Regions from separate parts of the Homo sapiens genome. Here region 1 is linked to region 2. The links are contacts of gene promoters, found by promoter capture Hi-C in blood cells and fetal thymus (Javierre and others, 2016). All regions are on one chromosome and are shown on one strand. Each heading gives the region's core, a stretch centred on a gene start or on the middle of the fragment in contact. The rest is flanking DNA. Distances are from core to core; before and after follow the strand shown.

Region 1 (4,937 bases), core at 2,364-4,863, 260 kb after region 2:
TCTATTAATAATGCCAAAGAAAACAATGTATCCACTCCCAGGTGATAGCAGGAAGTCAAGAAGTGAAGATGTGTCAATTCTACAATCCTGGTGGTCAAGACTGAAGGGGGGATGATAATGATAGAGAACAGCCCTTCCTCTGTCACAAGGGCTCCTTGGCAAATTTATACTGATCCCATCTTAGGGAGGACTCAGGCCACACCCACCTCACTGCTAGGCCAAACAGTATACTGTCCCCGCAAGGTACCCTGCCCTCTGGAGACTGTGAGCCTTCCCTGGCTGTCAGCCTGGCACAGGCTTCCTCTCTCTTCTTTCTCTGAAAGAAGAGAAAGTCTAAGGGCTTTCTTTGACAGCCAGTGCCTGCTCTGCCAGATCCCACTCTGCCTGTGCACATGGCAGGCCAGAAATACCAGGAGATTGACACCCACCACCAAGGAGCAGCCCTCAACCAGTAAGTGCCTCAACCAAGTGCTCAACCATTGGTAAAATAATTCTAACGTGTGTTCTACACCGACTACCAGAAAGCCTAGCAAGATTCCACTCCAGTCACCTAAAGGGGCAACTTGATATTGCATACTTTCTTCACTCCCCACCCTTCCCTGTCTCTTCTATGAGTTCTAGGTTCACCTTCCAAATAAACTATTCGCACTGAATCCTTCAAAATCAGGATCTGCTTCTAGGGGAACCTAGGTTAAAATAGGTATGGAGAGAAGTGTGTAAGAATCCTGCCTTTCAGGCTAGTAGGTTGATTACACCGAGGACTACAAAAAACAGATGGAGCTGCTCTTCCATGGGAATAACTGTCTGTCTGTCTGTCTGTCTGTCTGTCTATCTATCTACCTACCTACCTATCTATCTTAGGCAAAGAGATGAGAGCTGGGATCAGGAGCTGGGTCTACATGCACATAATGGTAAGGTCTGAGGATGTAGGAACAGAGCCCTGGTGGCATCTGTACGATATATACACATTTGCTCCAGAAAAGCCATGGAGAGAGGAGATGAGTGGCACAGAGCTGTGTACCAGAATGATGGAAAGAGAAGCCTAGGGGAGGTACAAGGACTAAGGAGAAGAATTATGTTAAACAAGGTATACGAGATGTTGAGGGCTATGGTAGATGCAATATAAACTTTTTCTCTGCCTCCCTGATGGAATCTTCAATAAAATCAGCATTGCCCAGTAAGGAGCTCAGTGGGAGTGGATTCTATTTGCTGATGGTCAGAGATGCCCTGTCCTTTATAATGCTGGGTGTGGCACAGCCAGAAAAATCACCTGTGGGGACATCTGACTTATATTTGTATCATTCACAACACCTGCTTCAGGGCTAAAGCACACAGTAACTTCCCACTGAATTCTTACTGAATGACTGAATAAATAAATGCACCTTTCCGTCTTTTGATAGGCACATCCATTAATAATCAATGATAATCACTTTCTGTGCTCTCTGGTTGAAATTACTTCAGTTGCAAAGCCTACCTATTCATATTTATTTCCCCACTCATGCCACTTCTATGTCAGTACAAACACACACACACAAACACACAAAATATGCACAGCTCTTCTAATATAGTCACTTGAACACACATAGAATTTAGTATTGGTGCTATTTAGCAAAGCTCAGAATAAAAACTCATTCAATCATCATTAAACAAATATTTATACAACAAATATTTATAAGTTATTGGAGAGTCAAAGATGAAAAAATAGGTTTCTTGTCTTCAAAGAGACCTCAGTATGAATTATGGTCATGAGTCTCTCTCCAACCCTTTTCCTTCGGTGTGAACCACTGGTGAATCATTCCATGGAAAATACCCAGGTCTCATTCACTTCCACTCTTTGGGGACAGACTTGCTGCACCATTAGCGTATTACCAGTCTTCTTTAAAGAAAACTCCCAAACTTGTCTTTGTCCTGGGAAGGTAGGAGTATGTACCAGAATGTGAGCACATTTTTTATTATCTCTTTCATCTCCAGGCTTCCTTTCAACCACCTGCCTTCCCTGACATCCTGCCCAAAAGGCAAAACAGAGTTTCTGGACATTTTGTTAAAAAAAAACCCAAAAAGTTGGAAAGCCCATTATTTGGACAGCACAGCCAATGTGTGTTGAAAGGCTATTCCAATGTAAGGCAGTTACAGATCAAAACTGAGCCAAGAGCTCTATGCAGGGGTGAAGGAAAAGAAATAGAGGGCAAAATGGGACGGAGGTGGCTTGACGTACAAGGTGAGGGCTTTGTAAGAATCTATAAGCTTTCTACAAACAAACATAATTTTACAATTTAATTTATTACTGGCTTTAGGGACTGTCAGTGTTGTTCTTTGGAAATTACCCATTTGAACACCTCAGAAAATCTGATGGATAAAACAAAAAGTCGAGTCTCTCTCCAACCCTTTTCCTTCGGTGTGAAACACTGGTGAATCATTCCATGGAAAATAGGAAAAATAGTAAAGAGGCTTAAGTTGTAAGTTACAAATCTGACTTTAACCTTCAAAGAGAAAGAAAAATAGTTTCTGGCTTGAAAAAGAACAATTATGCACACTTGCCTGTTTTCAGGCTCAATTCCACAAGCCCTTAGAAGATAAATCCAACTATAAATTACTATGTTAATGGACTTAGAATCCGAGTGGCACTGCATTGTTTGCTTTTTGTTTCTTTCTGCACTTGATTTGTGTTTAAAGAAGGCTTATTCCACCCTAACAAATTTATATAACGGATTTCAATGTATGTCTCCCTAATGTAAAATGATTTTTTAAAAGTACGACATTTAACAAGTAGTTTTATCTTCAAATAGCAAATATATATGTGATACATAAAACAGCAAACCAGTAAGTATTAAAGCAGGTACCGGGTTCTTCGTCACATTGTCTGGGATGCCCTTTGCGGCTTTTATTTTTTCTCTTTCTTGTTTGAGTCTTTTCAATGCTATTTTTTTAAAAACATGCAACATTGTTCCTACCTTGAAAGAGTTTGCAGAAGAAATAATGTTTTATTTTCATGTAACAAATGGAAAATAATCTAGGGCTCTTGTTTTTTAAACTGAAAACTGTAGAAATTTAGAGAGGGGCAAGGTCATTTTAGGTTATAGATATTTAATAAAGATTAACTAATTAATTAATACCCGTTTGTGAATGACCACTAGATAATGGTGAGGTTGGAACTAAGCATCGGAAAGCTGTAAAAAAGGCACTAAACAGGCATTCACTACAAGGATATGTAGGAGATGGGTGAGGGATGGGGGCAGGGTAGGCTGTGGTTGAAAAGAGCAAGTCCAAAGAATGTGATAAGATCAGAGAGGGGAGGTAGAATCTGGTGACAGAGAGACTGGAAGGAGTAAAGTGATGGTAATTTTCCTTGCCATATCTGGGGCAAGTAATAATTTGTGTCTTCAAAGGAGCTATTATTATTTTTATTGACAAGTGATTAAATCAGTAAAATCTCCAGTCTTTAGTAAAAAATAAAATCTGGGTTTCTCCAATTGAAAGAAAAAAAGATTTCCTGAGGTTTAAGCAAACACTGAGGTGAAAACTCCAGTTCTCTTTTTGGTCATGACTAAGTGATGAATCATTCTCTTCAAACATCACAATATGTATTAAATAGCATAAAAATATAATTTTCAGGCATCTTAAATATATGAAGAGCCAGTATTTCCAGCTCTTAGGAACTAAAATATGTATGGAAAGAGAATTTAAAAAAATACAAGCCTAGACAAATACTTTTTTCTCCTGCTTTCTAAGCCAATATAAAATTAGTGTAACTTTGGCTGAAAGTGGGGATTATGGGAAAGTGTAATACACACAAGATTAATTGGGTCACATTGCAAAATCCGATGACTGATTTGAACTTTCATGTTACCCAAACCAGTTTTGCTTGATTATTGAGAATCTTGAAGGTAGAAAAATCCAACTAAATAAACACTCAAAGATATTTTAGCATTTCTCAGTTTTTACTCTTACCTCAAGTTTTTCCTATGTATGAATTTAAGACCTTTAAACTTAGTTAATTATTATCTTGAAACTTATGTAAATGTGTGACTTCAGTTAAAAATACATTGCTAACTCATTAAAGGGAAATGACAAGAAACAGCATCATTTAAGTCAAGGGTTGGCAAACTTTTTCTTAAAAGGCTAGGTAGTAAATATTTTAGGCTTATAATCATTAATAACTCCACTGTTATAGAGTCAAAGAAGCTACAGACAATATATAAACAAATAAGTATACTGTGTATCAATAAAATTTTATTTATAAAAACAGGTGGTTGTCCCAGGGTCATAGTTTGACAATCTTTGATCTAAATATTGCCATCATTAAGGTAACTGGTAAGCCTCTTCCAAGCTGAATACCAGTATGAGCCCCCTCACTTCTATTTTATTACTATTTCCTGGGATGGGGAGTTGGTCCATGGAAATGGGACAATAGATGTTTTTGTGATAAACACTATTTTATTGATAAATGTTACTCCTTTTCAACTTTTCGTATTTTAATTTTTAACTCTGAAACATGTCAAACAGGTAAAAGAGTAAGAAAATAATATAACAGACACCATTATACTTACCACACTTATTTTACAGTCATGTTTTCATATTTGCTCCAGATTATTTTTTGAAGGAATAAAATATTACAGATACAACTAAATGCTTATTCCCATTCCATTCTCCTTTCTCTATGCCAAGAAATTAATCCTTCCTTTGTAGGTAGTCTTTTCTCTCTGTTTGCTTTTAGGATTTTCCTATTGTCTTTGATGTTCTGCTATCTGAGGATTCATATCTTTCATCAACTCTGAAAAATTATCAACAAATATCCCTTTGAATATTATATTTCCCCCATCTTCTGTGTTTTCTCTCCTTCTATAACTCCTACTTCAGCATATGTTTGATCTTCTATACTCTGTGCTTAAGCCTTTGTTTTGTCCTGTTTCTTTATCTCTTTGTGCTGCAATTGGGGT
Region 2 (4,930 bases), core at 2,057-4,556:
GTCAAAGTACAAAGCATACCAATATGGTCATTTGCTCCAATATAGCCCAACGGATGGTATTTTTTTATTAATAAAATGTGGAAGTAACTAGTATGTTTTTATGGGGAAAATTACAAAATAAGTTTACCAAAATAGACTGGATCACTAAAACAAGAAGAATGGTTTGGCATATATAACTTTTAAAAGTATGGTAACAAAACAAACTGTTAAGTTCCATTTTACCTGGTATTATCTGTTCCTTCTGATTAAAAGAATTAGATTTGAGAAAATCACATCTATCTCTTGAGTACAAATTAGCTATCACTTTTTAGATGACCATGCCATTCTTCAGTTTTTGATATAGCTTCCAAACAGAAGTTTCAAAATGACTCTGCCTAGCAAACACATCACTGTACTTTAAACAGAGTGATGTTTTCTATCCCATATTTTCGGAAGGTTAAAGCACACACAGAGGCAAGAATCATGACAGACAGCAGATCCTAAGAGAGTTTATTAACTCTTTAGGTAGATTAGGCAACACTTGTTTTTAAACTAACTACAAATCAAAGTCTTTTTTTTTTTAAATGATTCAACATTACTACCATGCTACCAACAGATACATAAGGGAGAGAAAAAAAAAAGGGCTGCCTGTTCCGAACTCTGCTTACCTAAAATTTGCATCTAGTCACGTGCCATTTTTAGAAGATGTCCCCTTCTGAGATAATCAAGATACTTGTACAACAGGGAATTTAGACTTAATTACCAAACTTTAATACCATGTTATATAGGTCAAGTGAGTATGTATACCTTTCTCCAGAAACAAAGGAATTCCGAATAATAGGATTTCAGATTTAATTGTAGAATTAGCAAAATGTTTTGAGAATGTCATTTACCGCAACACAAATCAATATTAAATGCTTTATGCAGGAAGCACACTTTCAGAAAATGGGCCGTAAAGCTTTCTGGGATCCGACCCTAATTACTAGAGCAGGCTCTTGCCGTTTGTCTCTCTCTTCAATTATTTACAGGGCAAAAAAGCCAAATGGCATTGCATTAGCTACATTAAATGGTATGGACTTGGTTTCTAACTTACTAATGGTATATAAAAATTACTAAGGTAAATGTGCCTGTAGAAACATGGCTTTTTTTCTTCCTCACCTGAGTGGGTGTATTTATTATTCATATTGTTAAGTGTTGAATAAGCTGTCCTTTAGGCACCCAATGCTGCATAATTTAAACAAGTGCATTAAATATATAAGATATCTAAAAGGTAGTGCATTGATTATGCCACAAAATTTCTTTGAACAGCTACCATGTAGCTCACAGAAAACTAGCATCTCCTGCAAGTTCCTAAAACAAATACTGTGAGAACTACACAGAGATGAATAAGGGGTATCCTTGCTGCTACCATCTTGCTGCTTTCTGGTGACCCAAAGTAAAGTGGGAATTGGGGGAAGTGAAAATGAGGCCCGGGATTGCTAGGACATTTCTGGTCTCGAAACTGACAAGTGTCCTTTTTACGTAGACAAATACAGGGCTATGTCGTAAGTACATGAAAACGTGGACCACACACATTCTAAGAAAGAAAAGGCTGAATCAGAGATTCTTTGTACCAGGCCGGAAATGCCCAACTACCAGCAAGCAGAGCATGATTACAACCTCCCAAAGAAAGTTCGGACACTGCATCCATACCTGATTCTTTTGTGATCTAGAAGGGCACCCAGAGTTGTGATAGATGTTAATGGCTGAAGAAGGCTGCTGCGTCCAACTTCCACCCTCCCAAATTCTGGCGGCTGCTTCCAAAGCAGTGAAATTTCCAGTCTTCATGGCCCAAATAATTTTTTTAAATGAGTTCGGGAGGCATCAAATTCTTATTGTAAAAATAAGATAGGCCCACTAACAAAGTACCCAGGGTCCCTAGAAAGCCAGGCGCAATTTGTATGGCTACATGTCATCAACTGTTGTTACCCAAGAGTGTGCCGAGGTCACTTTTTAAAAAGCAACATTGGAAATCGATCTGTGGCAAACATATAAGCTAGTTTTGTTTTTGTTTCTTTTTTAACCAAATACGAAGTCACTTCTTTCTCTGCACTGAAATCTGCCCATTGTCCCTCCTTTGCAAAACCTCTAGAGATTAGAAGGGACATCAATGAACGCGAGTGAACTTTGGCCACTTTTCTACCCAAAACACCAGCGTAAAAGTAGAAATCAGTAACCAGGTGAAGTGCCACACCGCACAAAGATCAGAGGCGAGGGGCGGGCGCTCAGGGCCGGAGGCGGGGAGGAAAATATCCCGGCCCCGCCGCCCCTCCAGCCCCAGTCATCGCGTGCGCGGGAGGTGGAGGGGCGTCCCTGGGGGGCGGGAGGCTCCGCGCCACGGCGAGGGGAGCGAAGAGTTACAGCTTACAGGGCGAGGCCCTTGGAGAAGGGGTCGAAAAGCCGGGCCACCAGCGGATCCAGACGCGCACACCAGGCGACGGCCGCCGGCCAGCCAGGGCTCGGCGAGGGGCGCCGCTCGACCCCACGACCCTCCCCGCTGGCCGGGCCAGGAAGGGGCTGGTGGCTCTTTCCTGTCTAGTCTCTCCCCCCGCGGCTTTCTGTAACCCGATCCCCGCACTCCGCTCCCAGGGAAGCCGCCGCCCCGCGCGCCGCCCGGCTCTGCCCAGGCCAGCGCTATAGTTAGCAACCTTCCAGCAACTCCGCCCGGCGGTGGCGGGGGTTCGCCGCGCGCCCCCCTCCCCAGGCCTGACCCTGCGCGCGTCCCCGGGCCCCCTCCTCCGGCCGTCACCTCTCCCCGGCGCCCCTTTACCTTGGCTTGCAGATACTGGGGGTAATAGTAGGTGGCGTACTGAGGGTACATCTGCTGTTTCCACACTTTGCCCATGAAGCTGGAAGGGAGCCTGCCGTGCAGGGTCGCGGACACTTTGGGGTTTCCAAGTCTCGGGCTCTCCTGCCTCTCCCTTTCCGGCGGCGGCGGCAGCGGCGGCGGCGGCGGCGGCTGCTGCTGCTGCCGCTGCTCCACCTCCCAGCCGGGACCAGACGTCCTCCTCCTCCTCCTCCTCTTCCTCCTCCTCCTCCTCCTCCTCCTCCTCTTCCTCCTCCTCCTCCTCCTCCCAGGCAGAAAGAAAGACACTGCAGAGCGCAGAGGGCACCCCGGACAGGGCGCTCCCAAGGAGTTTCCTCCCGGAGCCCGACTGCTCCGGGGCTGCCAAGGGCTGGCGCGCTGGCCGCGGTCCGCTCGGGCGAGCCGGCTGCGCGGGGCTGAGAGGTGATCAATACAAGTGGAAAGTGCGGCAGCGGCGGCTGCGCTTGGTGCCAGGCGGCATCTGGGGTGGGTGCGCCCGATGTGGAGAGAGGAGAGGGGCTGGCGTTCCGAGGCCGTGGGGGAAGGGCGGGCGGGGGCGGGGCCTGGGCGCCGCCGAGCCCGGGACCCGCTGGAGGTGAGGGCTGAGTTTTAACCACTCCTCACCTCCCAGGCTCGCGGTTGGACGGGCGGAAGCCCTGTGAGTCCAGATCGCTTTGTGTCGGGGGTGGGGAAATGGGAGTGGGAGTGGGGGTGGAGGGGGAATGCGGGGGGACCCAGCTTAAGAACTGCAGGGCGGGCACCTCTTTTGCTTTCCCGAGTTTTTATCTTCGTAAGGGGGAGGGGAAATAAGGGAAAAGAGGAAATCTGATTAATCGTTCACTTCCCACCGCCCAGTAATTTTTTTTCACAAGGGAAGGAAAATGATTTAATGCCCAACAAAGCTGGAGTCTGGACACCTGGGTTCTGTTCCTCCCACCCACCCCCGACCCGGGGCCACAAGACTAATCTAGGTGACCTTGGGAGGGTTAGCGTCCTTCGGTTTGGTTTTCCCAGATGTGAGACGTGAAATCATGCCCCTTGCACAAGGGGAGGCAAAGCACATACATACATACACACACACACACACACACACACACACCCCTCACAACATATAGACGGATCCTTCTAAGAGGGGGATGCCGCAAAGAGGCAGAATGTTATTAGAGGACACAATATAGACATCAGCTTTTCTCTGCCTCTTTCTAATGCTGCCAGACAGTCTGTCAACTCCCACTCAGGAGCAAGGAAACTCCCTGAGTTTGGAATATTTTAAGGCCATTTTGAAAGTCACGCTGGCATATTGTTGCAGTGTGCTTCAGTGACATATAAAATCAATCTCTCTTTCTGCCTCTCTCCATCTCCTAATTGTCACAGCTCTAGACAGCCTCAGACCAGCAGTGGTTCAGTTCACTACATAACTAGATATAATTTAATGGAATTAATTGGTCCCCGAAGCTGCCTGCAGAAGACTTTTATATTCCAGCTCAAAAAGAGAGCTAATACCAAAATGTACATACGGATAGCATAGGTAAGCAAGCATCCTCAAATTAGGGTTCCGGCACATCTAATAAAATGTAATAAAAAACTGTGTTTGTTATTAAATAGACCTTGTTTACTTTGTCATTTTGGTTTTTGAAGAGTCTTTTGTTAATAGCACAAGGTAAATTAAACTCAACTGGAATGCATTATTTTGTTAAACAGTTATTATTTTTATATGATAACATTTTAAAATAGGTTTAGTAAGATACTTTAAAACAATGACAAAATAAGGACCTGAAACCCTTATAATCGTTCTATGGTTTAGACAAATTTCTAGATCTTACATGTTTGACAAAAACAAAATAAATATAAGTATAGGTGAGAACATTTTGGCTCTGCCAGGAGGCAAATCATGTCCCTCTCATTTACCTATGTAAAAGCCTATAAGGAAGCTAATATTTACTATGTCTGCTATATTGTAGGCACTGTTGAGGTGCATGCAGACCTGAAAAGTGGAATGGGTCACTGTCAGACTAGGGGAGCCTAAAATATTTCCCATATTGTTTCAATGTGGGGCCTTTTAATGTTTTTAAACAGGGAACTGACATGAACTAAATTGTGCTTTAG

What was found. Contacts are between HindIII fragments. The CHiCAGO score rates a contact against its expected background, and 5 or more counts as called.
Region 1: a fragment that was not itself captured here is called in contact with the fragment with the promoter of RBMS1 in region 2 in 1 of 17 cell types (monocytes); the score reaches 5.3 in monocytes.

Annotation. Positions count from the first base shown.
Region 1 is chr2:160,749,412-160,754,348 of GRCh38, forward strand. No RefSeq gene overlaps it. Among named protein-coding and RNA genes, the nearest start is that of RBMS1, 260 kb to the left of the region's middle. The HindIII fragment of the contact is 2,743 bases long and covers 2,243-4,937 here.
Region 2 is chr2:160,490,501-160,495,430 of GRCh38, forward strand. It overlaps RBMS1 (RNA binding motif single stranded interacting protein 1), which reads right to left and starts at 3,307. Exons shown (of 14, transcript NM_016836.4): 1 at 2,789-3,307. The coding sequence starts at 2,863. RefSeq lists an enhancer at 2,848-3,368 and a silencer at 3,555-3,734. The HindIII fragment of the contact is 13,330 bases long and covers 936-4,930 here.